Linked DNA regions of Homo sapiens: all the other regions are linked to region 4. Evidence: promoter capture Hi-C in 16 types of primary human blood cells and fetal thymus (Javierre and others, 2016). All regions are on one chromosome and are shown on one strand. Each heading gives the region's core, a stretch centred on a gene start or on the middle of the fragment in contact. The rest is flanking DNA. Distances are from core to core; before and after follow the strand shown. Region 1 has its middle 69 kb from the start of RNASEH2B-AS1. Region 2 holds the start of NUDT15 (nudix hydrolase 15). Region 3 has its middle 58 kb from the start of C13orf42. Region 4 holds the start of EBPL (EBP like). Region 5 has its middle 49 kb from the start of RNASEH2B-AS1. Region 6 has its middle 76 kb from the start of C13orf42. Region 7 overlaps C13orf42 (chromosome 13 open reading frame 42).

Region 1 (2,853 bases), core at 95-2,594, 1.3 Mb after region 4:
GTCTCGATCTCCTGACCTCATGATCCACCCGCCTCGGCCTCCCAAAGTGCTGGGATTACAGGCGTGAGCCACCGCGCCCGGCCCCCAGTTAATGCTTTTCAACACAACCCTTTATATTTCCGAAGAATAAAGACTTGTAAAAGAGATGGGGGAGTTATGGCTGCAGAAAACTGGCCCTTACTTTGCTCTGCTGACAGTTTTATAAGGCCAAGGAAGTTCAAAAAGTAAAAAGACTTTCTAAGCAATTCCACAGAAATTCTAAGCATTTTCAGGAAACCCATTTTTAACTTTAAAAAAATATTAATACAAGATTAGTTGCAGTGATTTAATTAGTAAACCATGACAGATGGTTAACATGCAGCATTTTTTTTTTAATGTGAACAAAATCACCAGTTTTTTTTTCAGTTTGTTTTTTCTTATTAATCTTGGGTAAAGATTCCTTGGGTCTTCAAAGATAACTACTCAGTCTACTTTTTAAATGGATAGTTTGTCTGAATAATTTTGTTAAAGCTTTAGTAAATGAATGTTGGGAGTGTAATTTCCAGAGTACAGGCTGAATGCAATGACCCCTAACACAGCCCAGATCTGGTCACCATGGACTGATGGCAGAGAGGATCCAGATATTTTGGTTGGATTCATGATTAGAGACTAAATCAGTATGATGCCTATGAAAAGGTCTGGTTTTTAAATATTTGCCATGGAGCTAGAGTAGAAGGCAGGGTGACAGAGGCAGCGGTGGCTGGAGTGTAACCAGCCCATGAATCTCAGGCAGGACAGGCTTGCATGCTTCTGTATATTTCTCTAGGAGAGAACACTGGGCTTCAAGGCTAGTCTGTTCTGTCTTCAGGCTCTAGGAATCTTCTTGTCAAACCCCTTCATTGGAAAAATGGGGCCTAGAAAGATTAGATGACTTTCCCAAGTGATAAGCTAAGAAAATACCCCGAATGCTTTAAATCCACCTTGAGGCTTCAATGTCTATGTGCTCTATAAAGTGAATCCCATATTGTTTTTCTTTAAAAGATTTTCAGAAATAGCTGCCTTTTACCCTTTACTCACACTAAAGTTTTGAAATACTAATGTTTCTGATTTGAAGATGGAGGTGGGAAGTTCATCCTCTATCCCCACCTCCCACCCCCAATCTCTTCTTTGAAATCATCCAAAGCAAAAGGAAAATAAGAAATGGAAACCAAAAAATCAATTTTCAGCAAAACTAGGAGGTATTTTAAACTATGAACAACAAATAGATGGAAGGACTGCAAAAAGCAGGGGAGCTTCCAGGAGAAAGAGGAAGGAAGAGTTCATGGCTGTGGAAATGAGACTGAGTCAGCAAAAATACATTTGTAAACAGAGAGGGCAGAGGTGAGGAATAAAGTCTAAGTCACATGTTTATGACAGAAGGAACCAGTATACACACCAGAACAGCAAGAACTCTCCAAGACCCAATTTAGTTGTGAAATGAAGAGGTGATGGAGTTAAAAAAAAAAAAATCACACATCCACATCACATTTGCAGGAACTATCTATCTCAGTGGCAGAGGGAAAGAAGAGAGACGTTGCTTTTTAAAAATCCCCATAGCTACCTGTCTTTATTGATCAGGGAGAAATAGAACTAAAACTTGCATGCAAAACCCTGGTTTATAAAGAAAATTCCTACTAGGCTGGGATGAGGCCCTGTAAATATTTGGCCCAAGGAAAACTCTTGTGCCTCAAAGATGAGAAACCAAAAAGAACAAACCCAAGTTATTTCAAAGATATGAAACATAAAACAAGAAAAAAAAAGACCAGAAAAAGTAAATGGCAGATAAAGTGTTGCCAAAGAGCAGATAAAAATAGTAAAAAGCATTTTACTACAAACATAAAATACTTAAACAATTACCTCTATGAAGTTTGGGCACAAAGTAGAGAGGGAAGAATCATGGAAGTCACAGAAAGACAAGTGATGTTGTTTGAGCTGGCGCACTACAGGGTAGGCATGGGGGAAAATGTAAACCATCAAAGAAACAAAGATGTGTTTGAAGGAAGATAGACAATAATAATAGCACAAGAGCTCAGAGGTTAAAAATAAGAAAACCAAGCAAAATGAAATTGATTTGGGTACAGGAAAGATTTATTAAACAGGACAAAAAGGTGAGCAAAATACTGATTTTTTAAAACCTGGTGATTGTAGAGTTCAAAAAAACAAGCTTACTTGTAAATATTAATGCAAAAATATTAAATAAAATATTACCAAATAGACTCAAACAATTCATTAAAAGAATAATACAATGTGACAAATTGGGGTTTATTCATAATATAAAGATGGTTCAATATTAAGAAGTCTTACCATATTAGTTATCTAAGAAAGAAATAAGGTATTATTAATCTCCTTAGATACTTAAAAGATACTTGGTAGCACTTCTTCTTGTCGCCATGTGAAGAAGGATGTGTTTGCTTCCCCTTCCATCATGATTGTAAGTTTCCTGAGGCCTCCCTAGCCCTGTGGAACTGTGAGTCAATTAAACCCCTTCCTATATTAAAAAAAAAAAAAAGATACCTAGTAAAATTCAACTGCCATTATTGATCTCAAAATAATTCAGTGAAATAGGAATAGATGTGTACTTCCCTAATTTATACAAAATAAAAGTCAACATTATGTTTAGTGGAGAAATATCAGTAGTGTTACCATTAAAGTCAGGAGTATGATAAGAATGTTTTAAACAAATAAGAGAGAGAAAATAGACATATACAAATTGAAAAGAAGTAAAATTATCATTACTTGCAGATCTTATATTTGCATAACCCAAGAGAATCATCTGAAAAAGATTATAAAAATTATAATTCAGTAAGGTAGCTTAATGTAAAATCAATATATAAA
Region 2 (2,700 bases), core at 49-2,548, 1.7 Mb before region 4:
GAGTTTTTTTAATCACAACTGAGTATCGGATTTTATTAATTTTTTTCTGCATCTATTGAGATGATTATATGTATTTCCTTTCTCCCTCTGTTAATATGCTGAATTACATTGGCTTTTCAAATATTAAGCCAACCTAGTATTTCTGGGATTAATCTCATTGTTCAATATATTATCCTTTTTATATACTACCATTTTTTGAGAAGATATTGTAAGTACCTTTGTAATGAATGTGAATGTTGATAGTGAGGAGAGATGCTGTGAAAAGCTTAATACCCATTTAGTATAACATGGAGAGTAAGCATATTACTTAGAAATAAGTAGGCAAATATCAGAAATACAGTTCAAAGAGTTAAAAGTGATTGTTTCTGAAAGTAGGAGGGTCAGGTTGCTCTTGTTGCGGTTTTTGCACCATTTTACTTCTTAAAATTATAGCTATAGGTCAGGCGCAGTGGTTCACGCCTGTTATCCCAGCACTCTGGTAGGCCCAAGTGGAAGGACTGCTTGAGGACAGGAGTTGGAGATCAGCCTCGACAAAAGACCGACAGCCCACCTCCACAAAAAAAAAAAAAAGAAAGAAAATTAGCTAGCTTGGTGAAAATTAAAATAAAATAAAATTACCAGTATGTGCACATTACTTTGGTAGAAGTAAAAATAATGAGAAAGAGAGAAAACCCTCCCAGTAACTAGTCATTTGTTTTTATGATTCAGCTGGTTTGTATTTTGCATGGTGCATGGTGTGCAAACATCTGAAAATGTCTGTTTTCCACTGTTTGTAACTAACTCTTCCCAGCATGATTTATCAATTAGCCTTTATTTCCTCCCATGACTTATGAATATACCTTAAGCATAGTTGTTTATAATGGGATGTTTCTAAACGACCTATCCTTATCCTGGTACCACGCTGATTTGAGCTACAGGGCAAATGGGTGCACCATGGTGGGCGAGGTCATTCACGGAAAAAAGAATGTGCAGTGGTGCCGAGGTTGGTAAGAGCAGGCGGCTTGTACATGTAAATGCATGGTTTGCAGGAATCTGGGAGTGGATAGGCTGACGGGTGATGAATATTCAAAGCACAACTGTAAGCGACTTTAGTTACAGCGAAACTCTAAGGCACGCTGCCCTTCGGAAGGAAACACGGCATTCCCCAACCTGATAGCCCTCCGCGACGCATTACGCACCGCGGACAGCTGGAGAGGCCGAGGCGCTCTCGCTTTGATTTCGGCGCCTCCGCCCTCGCGGGGAGAGATTGGCTGCGGCCGCGGGACGGGGTAGTGAGCGCGTCACTTCCTGCCGCTGCCAGGCGCGTCCTCCCGCGCGCTATGACGGCCAGCGCACAGCCGCGCGGGCGGCGGCCAGGAGTCGGAGTCGGAGTCGTGGTGACCAGCTGCAAGCATCCGCGTTGCGTCCTCCTGGGGAAGAGGAAAGGCTCGGTTGGAGCTGGCAGTTTCCAACTCCCTGGAGGTCATCTGGAGTTCGGGTGAGCAGCCGCGGACGCGAGGAAACCGGGGCGTGCGCAGAGGGACGAACTCACGCCGTGCTTGCTTCCGTGTGCCGTGCGTGAGAACGTCCGCGCTGACGCTGCGTCCTTTCTTGCGCGTTCCCTCGGTTCCTCCCCTCGACTTCTGGGCGACGTAGGATCGCGCCCAGGAGGGGGCGCTGTGCTGGGTCAGGCGAGGTCTTTGCTAGCTGGGTCTTTCCGGCTGCGCCCCTGCTGGGTGGTGGTTGGGAGTTCGTCTGTGAGGTGTGTTTCTCACAGCTTACACACAAAAGGAGGAAAGCAGGTGTGTGTAAACCTCCAGCAGCCCGATATTGTCAGCTAAGACATTGCACCGTTTCCATGTGATTGATTGATTGATCGATTGATTGATTTGAGACTGTGTCTCGCTCTGTAGCCCAGGCCAGAGTGCAGTGGTGCTATCTCCAGTCACTGCAACCTCCGCCTCCTGGGTTCAAGCGATTTTTGTGTCTCAGCCTCCTGGTAGCTGGGATTACAGGCGCCCGCTACCACGCCGTGCTAATTTTTGTATTTTTAGTAGAGACGGGGTTTCGCCATGTTGGCCAGGCTGGTCTCGAACTCCTGACCTCAGGTGATCCACCCGTGAGGTCAATGACCATAGCCAACATTGAGCTCTAATGGGCTTTTTGTTAAAGGCTGGATAATATGCCAAGCTCTTTGCATGTATACTTTCATTTGATCTTTACATAACTGGCATACTCAGTGGGCTAAATTTGATGGGAGAACAAACAGGAAATGGTTTTATTTTCTCCTTCCACTGCCTTCAAACATGATTTTTTCTTTCCCTCTTCAGTGACGTTTCCTGCAAATTCTATAGTTTTCTTGTCACTTGGTTATAAAAATAAATCACATTTGGGTCAGTATGATTCACTTCCAAGCATTTAAAAGTCCAATCCAATTTAAACCTTCAGTGTCACTTCCAGTTTCTAATCCCTCCCCTGCAGTGCATAAAGGAGGTGTGAGCCATTGTTCTGCTTTTCTGTATCCTCCTCCTCTTCTCACCTGGCTGTCTCTGAGTTTCCTTCTTTCTCCAGTGTGTTGGAGGAGGAGAGAGAGCAAGCCATTCAGGTGACTGATGCTGCTCTGATCCATCCATTGGTGTCCTCTGGGCATGATATCCACATGTGTGCTTTCTCAGGGTATGTTTGTCAGTTGTTGGGAAGTCCCACAGAGATTTTCCTGAC
Region 3 (2,870 bases), core at 100-2,599, 1.4 Mb after region 4:
CAGAATCCCGATTCTGGACATTCTCAGCCACTTGCAGATCCGGGCGTCCCTGCTCTGAGCCCCCCGTGCTCTCTGTATCACCTGTCTTCGTGCTAACTGCGAGTGGAATTGATTTGCCCATCTGCATGCTTCCTAGACTACCAAGTTGAAGGATCATGACAATGTCATTTGATTTAATATCTTCAATACCTAGCCCTGTACCTGGCACACAACAAGTACTCAATAAATAATTGTAAGATAATTTCGGTGAGAGACCTAACTTGACAGAGGCTCACAGACTCTGTGTGTCAGGAGGAGACCTAGGAGTTAACCCTGGCTCTACCACCATCTAGCTGGATGACTTGGAGCAAATCTCACTGTGCCTCCATTTCTTCATTTTTACAAAGATAGTATTCAACTAGGTCATTGTCATGAAGACTGTCATGTCTGGTCCTCCCCTTCTCTCCCTCAGCCACCAATGATGTCTCCTTCCTTGACCTCTGATTCACTTAGAAGGATGCTTAAGGCATTTAAGCCAGCAGTTCTCAAAGTATGACCCATGGAACCCCTGCGAATACCTAAGGTGTTTTTAGGAATCCATGAGGCCAAACTATTTTCAAAACCAAATTAAGACATTATTTGCCTTTTGTACTGATTCATATTTGCACTAATGGCACATAAGCATTGGTGAGTAAAATTTGGTGCCTTATAGCATGAATCAAGACAGTGGCACAAAACTATTATATTCTTTTTTTAAATCTTCAGTATATTATTTATAGTCATCATATCCCTCATTGTCACATATGTGCAGTAAAAAAAAATGCCAGTTTTACTTTAGGTTGTTCATTTTGAGGTAGTAAAAATTACTAATGTTATGAAATCTTGACCCTGAGTATACATCTTTTGAATATTTTGTGTAACAGAATGGGAAGTACGCACTCAAATAAAGTACTTCTCCTATATGCAGGAGTGTGAATGGTCACTTCCAGGAAAAGTACTTACACGATTGAGTTATGAGATGAATTAGCCACTTTTTTTAATGGAACATCATTTCCACTTAAAAAACCACTGACAGACGAACTATGGTTACTCAGACTTGGATATTTGGCACACATTCTCTTAAGAAAATAACAAAGTTAGCCTGTCACTTCAAGGAAAATAACTGGCAGAATGTGTTGCCAATGACAAAACTCAAGTTTGGGGAAAAAAGTTGCATCTTATACTGTAAGCTTATTAGCATCCCAATCCTTAGAGGCTAAGGTGATGATGATATTGACAAATGCAATTTTGATATTGTATAGTGAAACATGTCAACATTTGTAAGATTAGCACAAGTCAGTGAGCTAATAGTTTCCAAATAACTCATGCAAGCTAGTACAAAATGATGCGAAAAAATTTCTATCCAAGTGTAACACAGATCAAGAGATTTTAATATAACAGAGTACGAAGAAGGTCATCAGTACAGTTACAGATTCAACATTATAACTGACCTTTGAGAAAATACGATTTGTCAAGCTTTTGTGAGGTTTAAAAGAATAGCCACAATTATCTGAGAAGAGTATTAAATTCTTCTTCCTTCCATATTTTCTTCACAAGTTTCAACCAAAATCATATCACAGAATACATACATTGCGGAAGATGGAATCCCACTTCCATTACTTCCATTAAGTCAGATATTAAAAGAGATTTCCAGAACTGTAAAGTAATGCCATCTTGTCATTAATTTATTTGAATAATATAGTTATCATAAAAATGTTACACTAACATGTACTATTATGTATTACAGCATAATTATATAACATATAATTATTTTAGATAAATTTAAAAATGTTTTTTTAATTTGTTTTAATTTCTAATACCATAAATACCCATAGATTAAACAAAAGCTCTGTGGGGTCTTCAATAATTTATGAGAGTATAAAGGCTTCTGAATACCAAAGTGTTTAAGAACTTCTGATTTAAATCAAGAGTGCTTCAGGTTTGCTTTGGAAGCTAATGAAGCTGAGGTTTCCAGGACAGGGAGGAAGCAGCCTCACCTGGCCCCCTCTAGCTTGAAGCCATCCCCAGCCTGAGGGGTCACCTTATATGCCCTGGTAGTGGTCCTGGATGCCTGTGGGTGGGGCTGCAGACCACCCAGTCCTCAGGACCACTTGCTTCTGGTAGACTCAACACACATCCAGACTCTACTCTAACCCCCAAAAAGGCATCTGAAAGAGAGGCTGCGCATTCCCAGTGGGGACCGCCTGGTCCAAGAGGACTTGCGTAAAAGTAGGGGAGATGGGTGGAACAGGTCGAGGGAGATCAAACGCTGGAGTTTTCCCAGGACTTGCCAACATGAAAGAAGCACACTTCAGCAAGAAACTGCTGAGAAAGTTATGGATGTGCATAAAGAAATTTGTCTAAGCTAACAATGAAAACAAAATACAATAAATACAATTTTCAGCCAGCCATGCTAGAATATTCATTCTATCCTCTTTATAGAAAATGACATTATAAAATCATTGTCCAATGAACAGAAAAAGCAAAATACAGCCAAAGATGCAGGAAAGTATTATAAAAGAGGGTTAGTTAATTTATGATACTAACAATAAAAACATGTTTCCAGCTTTTGATGTTTATGTTATCTGTCAGCTTTAAAGTTTTCTTCCTTAATTCTAAGAAGAGTACTTATTTTTGTAGCTAAATTTTTATTGGTAATTATATTCTTTTTAAAGGAGGCTTCCCAAATTATATAAGCTTCAGGCCTCGTGATATCTGTTTCTACTCCTACTAAGTTTATCTTCCAGGCCCTGCGCAGTGGCTCATGCCAGTAATCCCAGCACTTTGGGAGGCCAAGGTGGGCAGATCACTTGAGGTCAGGGGTTCGAGACCAGCCTGGCCAACATGGTGAA
Region 4 (2,700 bases), core at 135-2,634:
ATAGTGCCACTACACTCCAGCCTGGGCAACAGTGTTAGACTCTGTCTCAAGAACAACAACAAAAAAAAAGACAAAAAAAAAAAAAAAGAATTCTATAAATAAAGGAGTTGAGAGAAACATTCACTGTCCCTTATCTCTACATGTTGATTATCAGAATAAAAAGAATTCCAGCAACATCAGTCATGGGCACAAAGCCAACCCGTAAACATTTACAGAACTCGATGATTACCCAAAACTCGGCTTGCTTTCTCAATACTACTGACTTTGGCTTCACATTAGCCACAGGTGTGTCTAGAGTTAAACAAGGTCAACTTTACAAAAAAAAAAAAAAACAAACTGATACTTGGGCATAGTTTAAAAAAAACTTAAAAGTGTGTGTGTGTGTGTGCGTGCGCGTGTGTGGTGGGGGGCGGGGCATTTCAATATAAATGCCTTAAACACAACCTTCCTGGCTATTTTATAAAATGGGTTGAATCTCTAAGGACACATATTTCCTAAGACCTCGACTGATACACAGAGTGCAAACTTGGGAGCCAGACTAGACTGCCTCAGAATCATGCCAGCTGTGTGGCACTGGAAAGTCACCTAATTTTGCAGCGCCTACCTTCACCTCTGTAAAATGGGGAACAATAATAACTAATTTATGGATGCTGTAAAGATCTGAAATTTTAAACTCAGTAATGCGCCTGGCACACATTAGACACGGGTGTTTCGTTTGTCTTGGCAAAGGCTTCGGGTTTTGCGACAATAGCCTTGCTGCCTCCGGAGCAAGCATCTCTCCTTGCCCCCTCTGGGGCATTTAAAAATGACCTCAATTCTACTCTCAATTATGTCCAGTTCAACAGTTACGTGCAGGTTACAAAGCCGAGGAAGCTGAGGTATCTTCTAAACTAACATAGCACGTACAGAATTTTTTTAAAGTTTGGTGGAGGAATCGGCAGCACAAGGTAAGCTGCGCTCTGTTCACAGACCTGGGAATCAGAACTCCGGCCGCCGCGGCCTCCAGGCGCCTCTCAGCTAACAGACTTCCTGCAGCAGGGGGAGGGGCGGCCAGCTCGCTGCAAAAAGCCGCAGGACCCCCTCACCCCGCCTTGCCGCCCCCGCTCCCACTCTCTGGGATGGGGAGTGCAGGGTCTAGGCGATGGCACTTACCAGCGCGAAGTGCACCAGCGCGTCGTAGCAGAGCCAGATGAGCGCCCCGCGGTCCGCCGCCCCCTGCCCGCGGCCCAGGCGCAGGCCCAGGGCGCAGCCCGCCGCCAGCAGCGCGGCGCACAGCAGCAGCGAACCGCCAGCCTCGGCCCCCAGCTCCCACTCAGCGCCCATGCTTCAGGCTTCCGACGCCAACGGCCCAGGACCATGCGGCAGAGGAAAGCAGGGAGAGAAACGACGGGGCGGGGCTGGCCGGGAAGGGGCGGAGCCGGATGGCCAAGGAGGAGCGGAGCTGATTGGCCAAGGCGGTCCGGGGAGGGACGGGGCTCCCCGGCCGGGTCGGGGCCAGAGCGAGGATTCCGTGCCCGCCTCGCACCCTGGCCAGCCTGCTGAGTCCGGTGGTTTTGCCAGGTGCCGCCCATGGAGGTTCCGTAGAAGGAACGTGCTCACCAACTTGCGCAACCGCCTCGACCAAACCTGTTCCCAAACCGAGCCCAAAGGATTGGTAATAGGGCCACACCTTTTGATGTTGTTTCGCTTTTAACAAGGCTCAAACTTTAAGCCACAAAGTGAAGCCTAGGTAGTGGAAATTTTGCCAGTAGACCGGGGCAGAATTTTAGGGGCAAAAGGTTTTAATTAGGCTGCAGCAAGCCTTACCAGGGAGGCTGGGGGCCAAGGGAGTTTTCAGCCACCAGCCGGCTTAAAGCCTTTATGGCCTACTCTGACAATCTTTCCATTTCTTAAAAATCCAGAAAAGTAGAAGGGTGGGTGAGAGGAGCGGTAAGTCCTATTGGCTTGGCGATAGATGCGTTTAACCTGTGGCAGGCCAGGTTTCACTATCGCAGGCCTCCATCACAACTGCTTCAGCACTGAGTGGTTAAATTAAATATTAAAAGCTGAGGCCGGGCGCGGTGGCTCACGCCTGTAATCCCAGCACTTTTTGCCAAGGCGGGCGGATCACGAGGTCAGGAAATCGAGACCATCCTGGCTAACACGGCGAAACCACGTCTCTACTAAAAATACAAAAAATTAGCCGGGCGTGGTGACGGGCGCCTGTAGTCCCAGCTACTCCGGAGGCTGAGGCAGGAGAATGGCGTGAACCCGGGAGGCGGAGCTTGCAGTGAGCCGAGATCGCGCCACTGCACTCCAGCCTGGGCAACAGAGCGAGACTCCGTCTCAAAAAACAAAAAAAAAATTAAAAGCTGAAAGAGTCAGTGCCCATATACCAAAGTCTGGAATGTAACAAAAGCCCACCAAGAGTTTTGCCTAGGCCTTTCTTGGGCCTTGAAGCATGACAAGATAACTAAGGAATTTTTAACAGGACCCGTTTAGGATTAAACAAGTTTTATTGGGGGTCTGAAGAAACTCCCCAGGCCTCCAAAAACAAGTTTATTGGGAGTCTGGAGGAATTCCACAAGCCTCCATGATTTAGCAAGAGACAAAATAAGGGTAATCATCCCAGCACCCAGACCTATTTAGATTAAGTAAATTTACTGAGGCTCCAGAGGAAGGTCTTCAGGATTAGAAGTTGTTAATCACTTACGTCTTTAG
Region 5 (2,700 bases), core at 77-2,576, 1.3 Mb after region 4:
TATGTGTCTGTTTTTGTATCAGTACTATATTGTCTTGATTACTGTAGCCTTGTAGTATAGTTTGCAGTTGGGTAATGTGATACCTCTGGCTTTGTTCTTTTTGCTTAGGATTGCTTTGGCTATCCAAGCTTTTTTTTGGTTCCATATGAATTTTAGAATAGTTATTTTCTAATTCTGTGAAAAATCACAGTAGTTACCTTTTTATAAACATTATTTTGTTACTATTTTCCCAGACTACTAACTGTTCTTCATAAATATGTTTTTTAATGACAGTATAATTTTTGATTATTTGGATATTTGATTATTTAATAACCATGATCCTGTTTGGACATTTGGATTATTCACAAATGTTCACTATTTGAAGAATCAGATTATAAGTAAATATTTGTCCACATATTTTATTGTTTCCTTATAATGGATTTTTGGATGTGGGCTTATTGGATTTTCAAATATATATTTATGGGAATATATTTCATGGAAAGTTTATAAGCTTTTGCACTCTAGGCTTATTTTAATGGTCTTGCACTCTAACAAACAGTGGGTGTGAAAGCTTAATGCCACCTTGTTAGCATTGGTTGTTACCTTTGGAAATAAGTGTAAAAACATTTTATTGTGGTTTTAATTCATATTTCCCTGATTAGTAGTGATTTTGAACATTTTTTCATACTTACTAATCAATTGTCATCTTATAGAGAATTGTCTTTTATATTCTTTGCTAAATTATTAGAGTATCAATATTTTTCTTATTGACTAAAAGTATTCTATAACTTAAGGACATTAATTATTTCTACTGTGTTTGTTGTAAATTTCCTTTCTTGGTTTATACTTTGCCTTTAATTTTGCCTATGATTTTTGACATGCAGGTGTTTTTAGTTTTTATGTAGACATATATACATAAACTTTTCCTTTACACAGATATTGTACTTAGAAAGATATTTCATTTTACAGGAAATTTAACCAGACACTTTTATTTTCTTCTGATTTTTTTAATAGTTATGTTTTTGGTTCTTTTTTGTTTTTTTTTTAGATGGAGTTTCGCTCTTGTTGCCCAGGCTGGAGTACAATGGCGTGATCTCAGCTCACCACAACCTCCGCCTTCAGGGTTCAAGTGATTCTCCTGCCTCAGCCTCCCGAGTAGCTGAGATTACAGGCATGTGCCACCACGCCCAGCTAATTTTGTATTTTTAGTAGAGACGGGGTTTCTCCATGTTGGTCAGGCTAGTCTTGAACTCCCAACCTCAGGTGATCCATCCGCCTTGGCCTCCCAAAGTGCTGGGATTACAGGCGTGAGCCACCACGCCTGGCCTATTTTTGTTTTATATTTAATTACTTAAATCATCTAGAGAATGTGTAATTATGTTTAAATATGCTGTGAGGTAAAGCTGTAATTTAATTATTTTCTCACCAGTTTAGTTTTTCATTTAATCTGTAGGATTATTTTGTCAAGTTCTAAGAGTAAGTTCCAATGGGATTTTTACTGAGATTTTGTTAGATGCATAACTTACTTTGGGAAAACAAACATCTTTACAAACTTAAATATTCTTATTTGGGAATATAGTATTTCTTTTTAGTTACTCAAGTCTTAAGAATACCTTTCACTAATGTTCGGTTCTTCATCTTCAATAGGTTCTAGACATATCTTTGTATGAGTATGTGTAGATATTTTCATTGCTATTAATGAAATCTGTTTTTTTCCAGCTAGGTCTACCAACTGGTCATTTTGTGGTAAAGTTTTATATTTTTATATATTTATCTTTTAAATAACCAGTTTACTAAACTATTAATGGAAAAATTTTCCATTTTATTTATTTTGGGTTTTAGTACATAATATAGTATGTAATTTAGTTTTTAAAAATTGCATGCAATTCTTTCTAATAGTTACACCTCTTTTATTATATATTTTACATTATATTACATGGGCTAGAATATCCAGAACAGTATTAAAGAGTAATAATAGCCGTCTTTGTCTAATTGGTGATTTTATTGATGTGCTTTACCATTAATTCTGACACTAGCTGTTGCTAATATGATAAAGACTATCCATCCTTTTATACTTAGTTTCCTTAAGGTTTAAATTAATAATTGGTGTTGGTTGTTATCAGAAAGCTTTTTGGCATCTATTGAGGTGTCTATAAAGTTTTTACTACTTACTATCAAACTGTACCCAAATGTCTAATAAACTCACCCTGGCAGTAGATAAAGGATCAATAGCATAATGGATACATCCTATCTTTCTTAACCTTTGTCAAATATAGTTTTCAATTAGACTTTCTACACTTTTATTAAGGAATTTTGCAGACATATTCATAAGCAATGCTGCTGTTAGGCTTTAGCGTTAGAATTAGGCTAGCTTTCCATTTTTTCCAATGTTCTGGAAGGATTCATTTTGCATTATTATATTCTATTGCTGGAAAATGTTTAAGAATCTTAGAGGTAAAACTATCTAGCACTGGAGCCTTTTTGTTGTTATAGTTTTCTTTAATCTGCAAGAGTTTCTCATCTGTTCTTTGTCTTACTTGACATTTTTGAGTACAGGGTAAATATTTGCTGGAATATTTCTTATTCTAATATTTCTTTTTGATTAAATTCAAGTCATACTCTTAGGGCACCTCCAGGAGTAATATGTCTTTCTCAGTACACCATGGCAGGAATCACAGTCTATCCCAATATCAGTGTTGTTGACTTTGATCACTTGATTAA
Region 6 (2,700 bases), core at 29-2,528, 1.3 Mb after region 4:
CCAGGTACCAAGGATTCTGCAGATGGGAGGGTTCTCCTGCAACCGTGCCTCTGTTGGGGGAGGCGGGGAGCTGGCCCAGGACTGCCACAGCATTTGCTTCCTCTTGGGCAGCCAAGACCAGACTCAAGTGGCCTTACCTGATAAGAGAGTGCCAGGTAACTGTGGAGGGCATCCAGGTTTTCAATAAACTCCATGAGATTTCCTCCCAGTGTCCGTAGCATCCTGTCATAGCCAGACATCTTCAGAATTGAAAGTATTCTCCAAAGAGTTTCAGGATGGCTTCCATGGAGACACCTGTAGAAACCAAAGCATACCCCCTAAATAAAATCTCCTGGAGGTGTGTGTTGTCCTTTGTGTGGTCTTCATTTATTTCCAAAGGGTTCACATCCTGGCTGTGTGACACTATCGAGCTACTCTCTAAGCCGTCACTTGCCTCCTCGGTAAAATGCCAATAACCACATTGATGTCATGGGCCCTTGGGAGGAGCCCCGTGCAGCCTGGCACTGAGTAGGTGCTTGTGAAACATAAGTCTCCTTGACAAATACTTCCTCAAAGTCGAGAAGGGGATGCAGAGATGCTGTACCCGCTTAGCTGCTGAAGCCAGTGCCCAGAACAAGCTTCACTCTGGGTGGGGAGGGCGCGACCCTCCACGAACACTGCCAACACCTCCCACATCTTTAAATGTAACAGTCAGTCTCTAACAAGAATACAAGGATGCCTCTGAGAAATAACTAATACACAATGAAAAAACTATGCCTTCAAGGCTACAGGATCCTGATTTACCAAAAAGATGATACCAAATACTTGCAGTGTCTTTCCCTTTCTCTCCTGACCTCCCTGTGAGGCCCAGTGTTCCTGTTCCATTCTCCATAAAGATTTCTCTGAATTCTCTCTTCCTAAGTGTTGCATTTTTTTTTCTTCCTAATTCATGGTAATTCTGGAGAGAAGCAACCCGATCCTACACGTTTTCTGTGCTAAACACAGCATAGGTGCCTGATGAACACCTGGAGGTAGATTTGCGGCATTAGTTGGAGCTGCTGCCCACCTCCCCGCTCCCCAGTCTACACTGTTGGAATAGACAGTAAGCAAGTGTCCACTTTATGGGAAAGACAGCAAACATTTTAAAAGAATGTTTTATAGTTCTGACAACACACATTAATTACTGTTCTGTTACTCAATGTTTGCCCAGCTCTTATAAGGTAGCTAACCTTATTATCATGTCCTTTTTACAGCTGAGCCTGTTGGGGCTGAGTCATCTTTGTGAATTGACTGCAGTCACATAGAGTTGCAGAGGCCAGATTTGTTGAAGAGGCTCCAACTCTAAGTTTAGCACTTTTTATACCACATCCCCCAGCCTCTGAAGCAGCAATGAGAGAAGCAAGGAGTCTCCCCAAGGGAAGCGCTGCTTATGCGTTGGCATCATTGACACAGGAGACAGGGCATCCATCCATGCTGCTGGTCTGGAGATCCTGTGAGAAACACCCTCTTATTTACAATGGGGCTGTGACACATGTAAGTCCTGGGGGCTGGGGCAAATGTCTGTAATGCCCAGGTTTATGGAAGGCCTGAAGAGCTCACCATCACCAGTATCTGTGGTTGCATCCTTGAAAAACTCTGTGATGCTCTGGCTGGATTTGGAATTCACAGCAAGGGACATTCCAGGTCTCATGAGCTATCCAGGGCTAAATCCTACAGAGGACAGACGAAGGAGGTCTGGGCACTCTCCAGCCCCTGCTTGCTTCCTAGGATGGTCTGAAGAGCAGTTTCCCTACAGCTCATAGTCCACAGCCAGACCATGGGGCAGATAATTGTTCTGTAATCTGAGCAGGATAGAGTCCCCACTGAATTGGTCTAGTTTTGTCAGAGATGAGTTGTACATATTTTCCAAGATGAGTTATACATATTTTCCAAAAATTGATTAGTCGGATCTCAATCTAGACGAAGCTTGGGATGGTAGAGAAGCCAGTGGTAATGGCCTGTGTTAATTGCCTCCGTTGGCTTCTTTGCTTGTGGGTGCATCCTGGCCGGCCTCAGGCAGGCTTGTCTATACACTGGTATAAATTCAAGGACCACCTGCTAACCCCTAGGGGATCTGAGACAAATTCTACCAAGTTCCTTTCCAGTGCTTGAGTCTCTGGGAGGGGGACTGCTAAAAGGTAAACAGACAGATGGGAAATTGTCCTTCTGCTCTCCTGCTTCCATCCCTCTGTTACCTCTGATCTAGCTTATTCAGACTAAGAAAAAACAGCTGTGCTGTGCATCCTGGAGGCTGGAGCTCTGAGCAGGTGCATCCTGTTACCTGCCAGGAAAAGCAGGGGTCCCAGCGGCCCCCCTTCTCCCAAGAACCTCTGCCAGGAGGACTGGGCTGCGTGTAAGCCAAGCAAAGTTATATTCAAGTAAGAGTGGCAGCTTTGGGTAAAAGACTGCCTGTTTGACTTTCAAATCTTTAAACTTAAAAAATCCATGAAGCTGTTTGTTCCAGGCTCTGGTTATTTTGTTTGTGGATGCCCAGCTCTGTTAAAAGGAAAGGACATCTGGCTGAGAGATGAACTGTTTCCCAAACAAGGATCTTGGGTTTGAGTGTGGTGTTTTCCACCTGTAATGGGTTTGGAGCTTCTTCTAGAATTCTTAGTTGAGAATGCTTGTCCAGCAGGGAATAAAGGCCGCTTTTTTAAAAAAATCAGCACCTGTTTTAGTCTT
Region 7 (2,846 bases), core at 199-2,698, 1.4 Mb after region 4:
TCCTGGGAAAGCCAGAGATCTAACATAGCCTCAGTGATCAGCTTGATTCCATTGAATAACTGGCCAATCCAAGGAAGAAAAGAATCTGTCAACTCAACTGGGTTTTCTGAATTGACTTTTATTGTTTCAGATTTCATTTATCTCAAACCCCACCAGACACCATCTCAAGATTCCCCAGGCAGAGCACAGATCCTTGGGTTTATCACCAACTTCAAACACCTAAAAATGATCCCCAAAGACAAGACAACCTTCTGTTTCCCAATCATGGAATTTTTCAGGCTGTGTATAGTCTCATGAAAGACAAAAAACATACAAAACAAAGCAAAATAAGACGGCACAGCTTCATGTGCCATAAGCAATAAATGCTTTTTAAAAAATCAGGACTCCAAACATCCTCGCAGTCATGTTTATTTTTTCTTATCTTTAAAAACAAAATGTACACAGTATCTTCACCACATAATTTCAGGGTGGATCTATGATAAACTGTAGTTTGATAAGAGGCAGAGTAAAGACACCTTTATCCTGAGTTTATCCCCAACAATGAACTTTTATAGATGAGGCTTCAAACAAGGCCACATTTAGGGAAAATAAAAGATCTGTGGTGATAAATGGCAGTGCTTTAATGCAGTTTATAAAACAAATCTCCTAAACATTTACTTTCCAGTCAAGCTTCTGGCTATAGCTGGGTTAGTACAAGCAACAAAATGAAAGAAACTTTCCAAACATTGACATTGGCACTCGAAAAATAATAAAGAGAGGTATTAAAACATTTCTAGTATGGTTTCATTCTGAAAACATGTTGAGATAAAATTTCTAAGAATGCAATATAATTACTAGCTGTTTTTTATTTGTAAGAGTTACATATTCTTAGATTCATATGATCAGGTTCACATAAACAAAAGGTTCTTCCTAAAAAATGGAACAATAAGAATATCATCCCACAGGCATGGCAGAAAGGAAGCCTCTGTTCAGTTCTTAGCCTGACCTTAGCCTAGAACATCCTTGGCTTAATTCAAATGATTGTGGTTTTCTTTGTTTTGTTTTGTTTTCTGTTTTTTGTCTCTCTCCCTTCCTTCTGCCCAAAGACCCTTATACATGCACAGACTGGTTTACAAGAAAATGCCAAAAAAAGAAGTGAGAATAGATAAATTTCAGTATATTCTCCAAACCAGTGGTTCTCAAGCTTGAATGGGTACAACTATTGCAAAAATGTAAAAAGTATTTAGAAATACAAAGAATATATTTTAAATGTAATTCTGATTCAGATAGTTCCTAAAATACAGAAATCCTTTCTATACCAAAAGAACGTAATGATTCTGATTGTTCTCTTAACTGGGGAAAGGGAAAGGTGTGGCCTGTCATAAACTGGTTCCATGGATATTTAAAAAGATTTTTCTGGGTAAGAATTAGAAGAAAAAGAAAAGAATCACCCCATCTCCCTTCTTCTCTTGTCAATTGCCTATGTGAAGGGGAGCTGAGTTTTGGGGCCTGAGGAAACAGTGTGGCCCCCAGGCAGGCTCGTGACATACCCCTTCCCTCACCCCATTGCCAGGGCATTAGCCTCATCTTAGCTTAATGCAGCAGGAGTTTCTGGAAAACTCTGAAAAGAGAGCAAAAGGAGCTGCTTTCTCAACTGCATTCTGCACACAAGACGGCAACCTCAGTGCAGATCCAGCATGTCTCTGAGCCTCATAGAAAGAGGAGCTACCTCTTTGAAGCTTTGGCCCAGAAATCTACAGGTGAGTTCATTTCTGGTACTGAGCACATTGCTAGCAGCCACCTGGACAGACACGTGGAGAATGAGGACCAGGCCAGGTGAGGTCAGGGGAGTGAGCCCAGACACTCCACTCAAGACCTTCCATTCCTTCAGCTCTTGAAGACCAGCCAGGCTGTAAGTCCCTGGTCATCAGCCCACGCAGAGAAACTCAAGCTCTGAGAGTGTCCTGAGACCTGTCCCCTGGGAAGCCACAGGTCTGTTTGGCACTGGCACGGCACCAGCAGGCAGTGTGCTGAGTGGGTTGACTGTGTTACAATTGGCATTTTCAACTCTACCAAATACCTCATGCTGCGCTGAAAGCGGACAGCTTCTCAGGGACCCAGTCTGAGACACGTCAAGGAATCCAGATGGAGTCAGGGCACCGTCCGCTCCCAAAGTCTTTCTCGAAGCAGCCACTGTCCTTTGGGGTTCTCTGTCTCATAGTAGTCCTCCCCAGGAGACAACTGGGGCTCCAACGCAAAGAGCTCTGCATCCCACTCCATATCTTCTCCTGAGAAGTTGAAAAGGATCTGTCTGGAGCTCCCCAGGCTAGAAGGAAGGAATGAGGCAGGAGGTTTAAGTTCGGCTTGGCCGGCCACACAGAGGGAAGGGATGCTCAATGACCACCATTCTCATGGAGACCCTCAGATTGCTGCCCTAGTCCTGGGTCTTGGGGAGGACCAAATGGTGTCGCCATGGGGGCCATGGGTGGACCTCAGCTGGACCTTGGCCTGGCCTTGAAGGGGAAGGACGGGTGGTGAGGGCTGGGTTGTGATTTTAATATGTCCAGTGCATGGTCTGTTACTGTGGAAGGGAAATGCTATCTAGAAAGCCCCTAAATCCAACAGGGTTTAGTGGCTTTTGTAGAAGCAAAGGAAGACAGCTGATGAGGCTTGACAGGCCCTTCCGTTGTGACAGGCAAGGCCCTGCAGCATGGCCTGGGTTGCCCAAACCCAGAAAGAGCTTACTGCTCTGAGCGAGTGGATAACAGGAATTTGACGGTTAGTGATGGTAACTAGGCCTGGGGGAGGAGGATCTAAAAGGAGACAGGCCAGAGGAGATGGTGGTAAGATGGCCCAAGAGGGGCCTG

Evidence for each region. Contacts are between HindIII fragments. The CHiCAGO score rates a contact against its expected background, and 5 or more counts as called.
Region 1: a fragment that was not itself captured here is called in contact with the fragment with the promoter of EBPL in region 4 in 2 of 17 cell types (total B cells and naive B cells); the score reaches 7.7 in total B cells.
Region 2: the fragment with the promoter of NUDT15 here is called in contact with the fragment with the promoter of EBPL in region 4 in 6 of 17 cell types (total CD4 T cells, activated CD4 T cells, total B cells and 3 more); the score reaches 12.5 in total CD4 T cells.
Region 3: a fragment that was not itself captured here is called in contact with the fragment with the promoter of EBPL in region 4 in 1 of 17 cell types (total B cells); the score reaches 7.8 in total B cells.
Region 5: a fragment that was not itself captured here is called in contact with the fragment with the promoter of EBPL in region 4 in 1 of 17 cell types (naive B cells); the score reaches 6.6 in naive B cells.
Region 6: a fragment that was not itself captured here is called in contact with the fragment with the promoter of EBPL in region 4 in 1 of 17 cell types (total B cells); the score reaches 5.8 in total B cells.
Region 7: a contact is called between a fragment that was not itself captured here and the fragment with the promoter of EBPL in region 4, in 1 of 17 cell types (naive B cells). The highest score is 5.1, in naive B cells.

The regions. Positions count from the first base shown.
Region 1 is chr13:50,978,045-50,980,897 of GRCh38, forward strand. No RefSeq gene overlaps it. Among named protein-coding and RNA genes, the nearest start is that of RNASEH2B-AS1, 69 kb to the left of the region's middle. The HindIII fragment of the contact is 1,672 bases long and covers 509-2,180 here.
Region 2 is chr13:48,036,428-48,039,127 of GRCh38, forward strand. NUDT15 (nudix hydrolase 15) reads left to right here and starts at 1,299. Exons shown (of 3, transcript NM_018283.4): 1 at 1,299-1,477. The coding sequence starts at 1,320. LOC124903172 (a long non-coding RNA gene) reads right to left here and starts at 1,565. Exons shown (of 2, transcript XR_007063788.1): 1 at 1,179-1,565. RefSeq lists enhancers at 427-1,303, 1,304-2,179, 1,346-1,585, 1,636-1,795. The HindIII fragment of the contact is 6,950 bases long and covers 264-2,700 here.
Region 3 is chr13:51,051,864-51,054,733 of GRCh38, forward strand. It overlaps the pseudogene GUCY1B2. Among named protein-coding and RNA genes, the nearest start is that of C13orf42, 58 kb to the right of the region's middle. The HindIII fragment of the contact is 286 bases long and covers 1,207-1,492 here.
Region 4 is chr13:49,690,102-49,692,801 of GRCh38, forward strand. EBPL (EBP like) reads right to left here and starts at 1,385. Exons shown (of 4, transcript NM_032565.5): 1 at 1,153-1,385. The coding sequence starts at 1,323. RefSeq lists an enhancer at 680-1,677 and silencers at 1,141-1,280, 1,311-1,510. The HindIII fragment of the contact is 12,052 bases long and covers 1-2,700 here.
Region 5 is chr13:50,958,447-50,961,146 of GRCh38, forward strand. It overlaps a transcript of RNASEH2B not described here. Among named protein-coding and RNA genes, the nearest start is that of RNASEH2B-AS1, 49 kb to the left of the region's middle. The HindIII fragment of the contact is 1,556 bases long and covers 549-2,104 here.
Region 6 is chr13:51,033,866-51,036,565 of GRCh38, forward strand. It overlaps the pseudogene GUCY1B2. Among named protein-coding and RNA genes, the nearest start is that of C13orf42, 76 kb to the right of the region's middle. The HindIII fragment of the contact is 1,327 bases long and covers 616-1,942 here.
Region 7 is chr13:51,082,021-51,084,866 of GRCh38, forward strand. C13orf42 (chromosome 13 open reading frame 42) reads right to left here. Exons shown (of 4, transcript NM_001351589.3): 4 at 99-2,305. The coding sequence ends at 2,131. Among named protein-coding and RNA genes, the nearest start is that of C13orf42, 28 kb to the right of the region's middle. The HindIII fragment of the contact is 535 bases long and covers 1,182-1,716 here.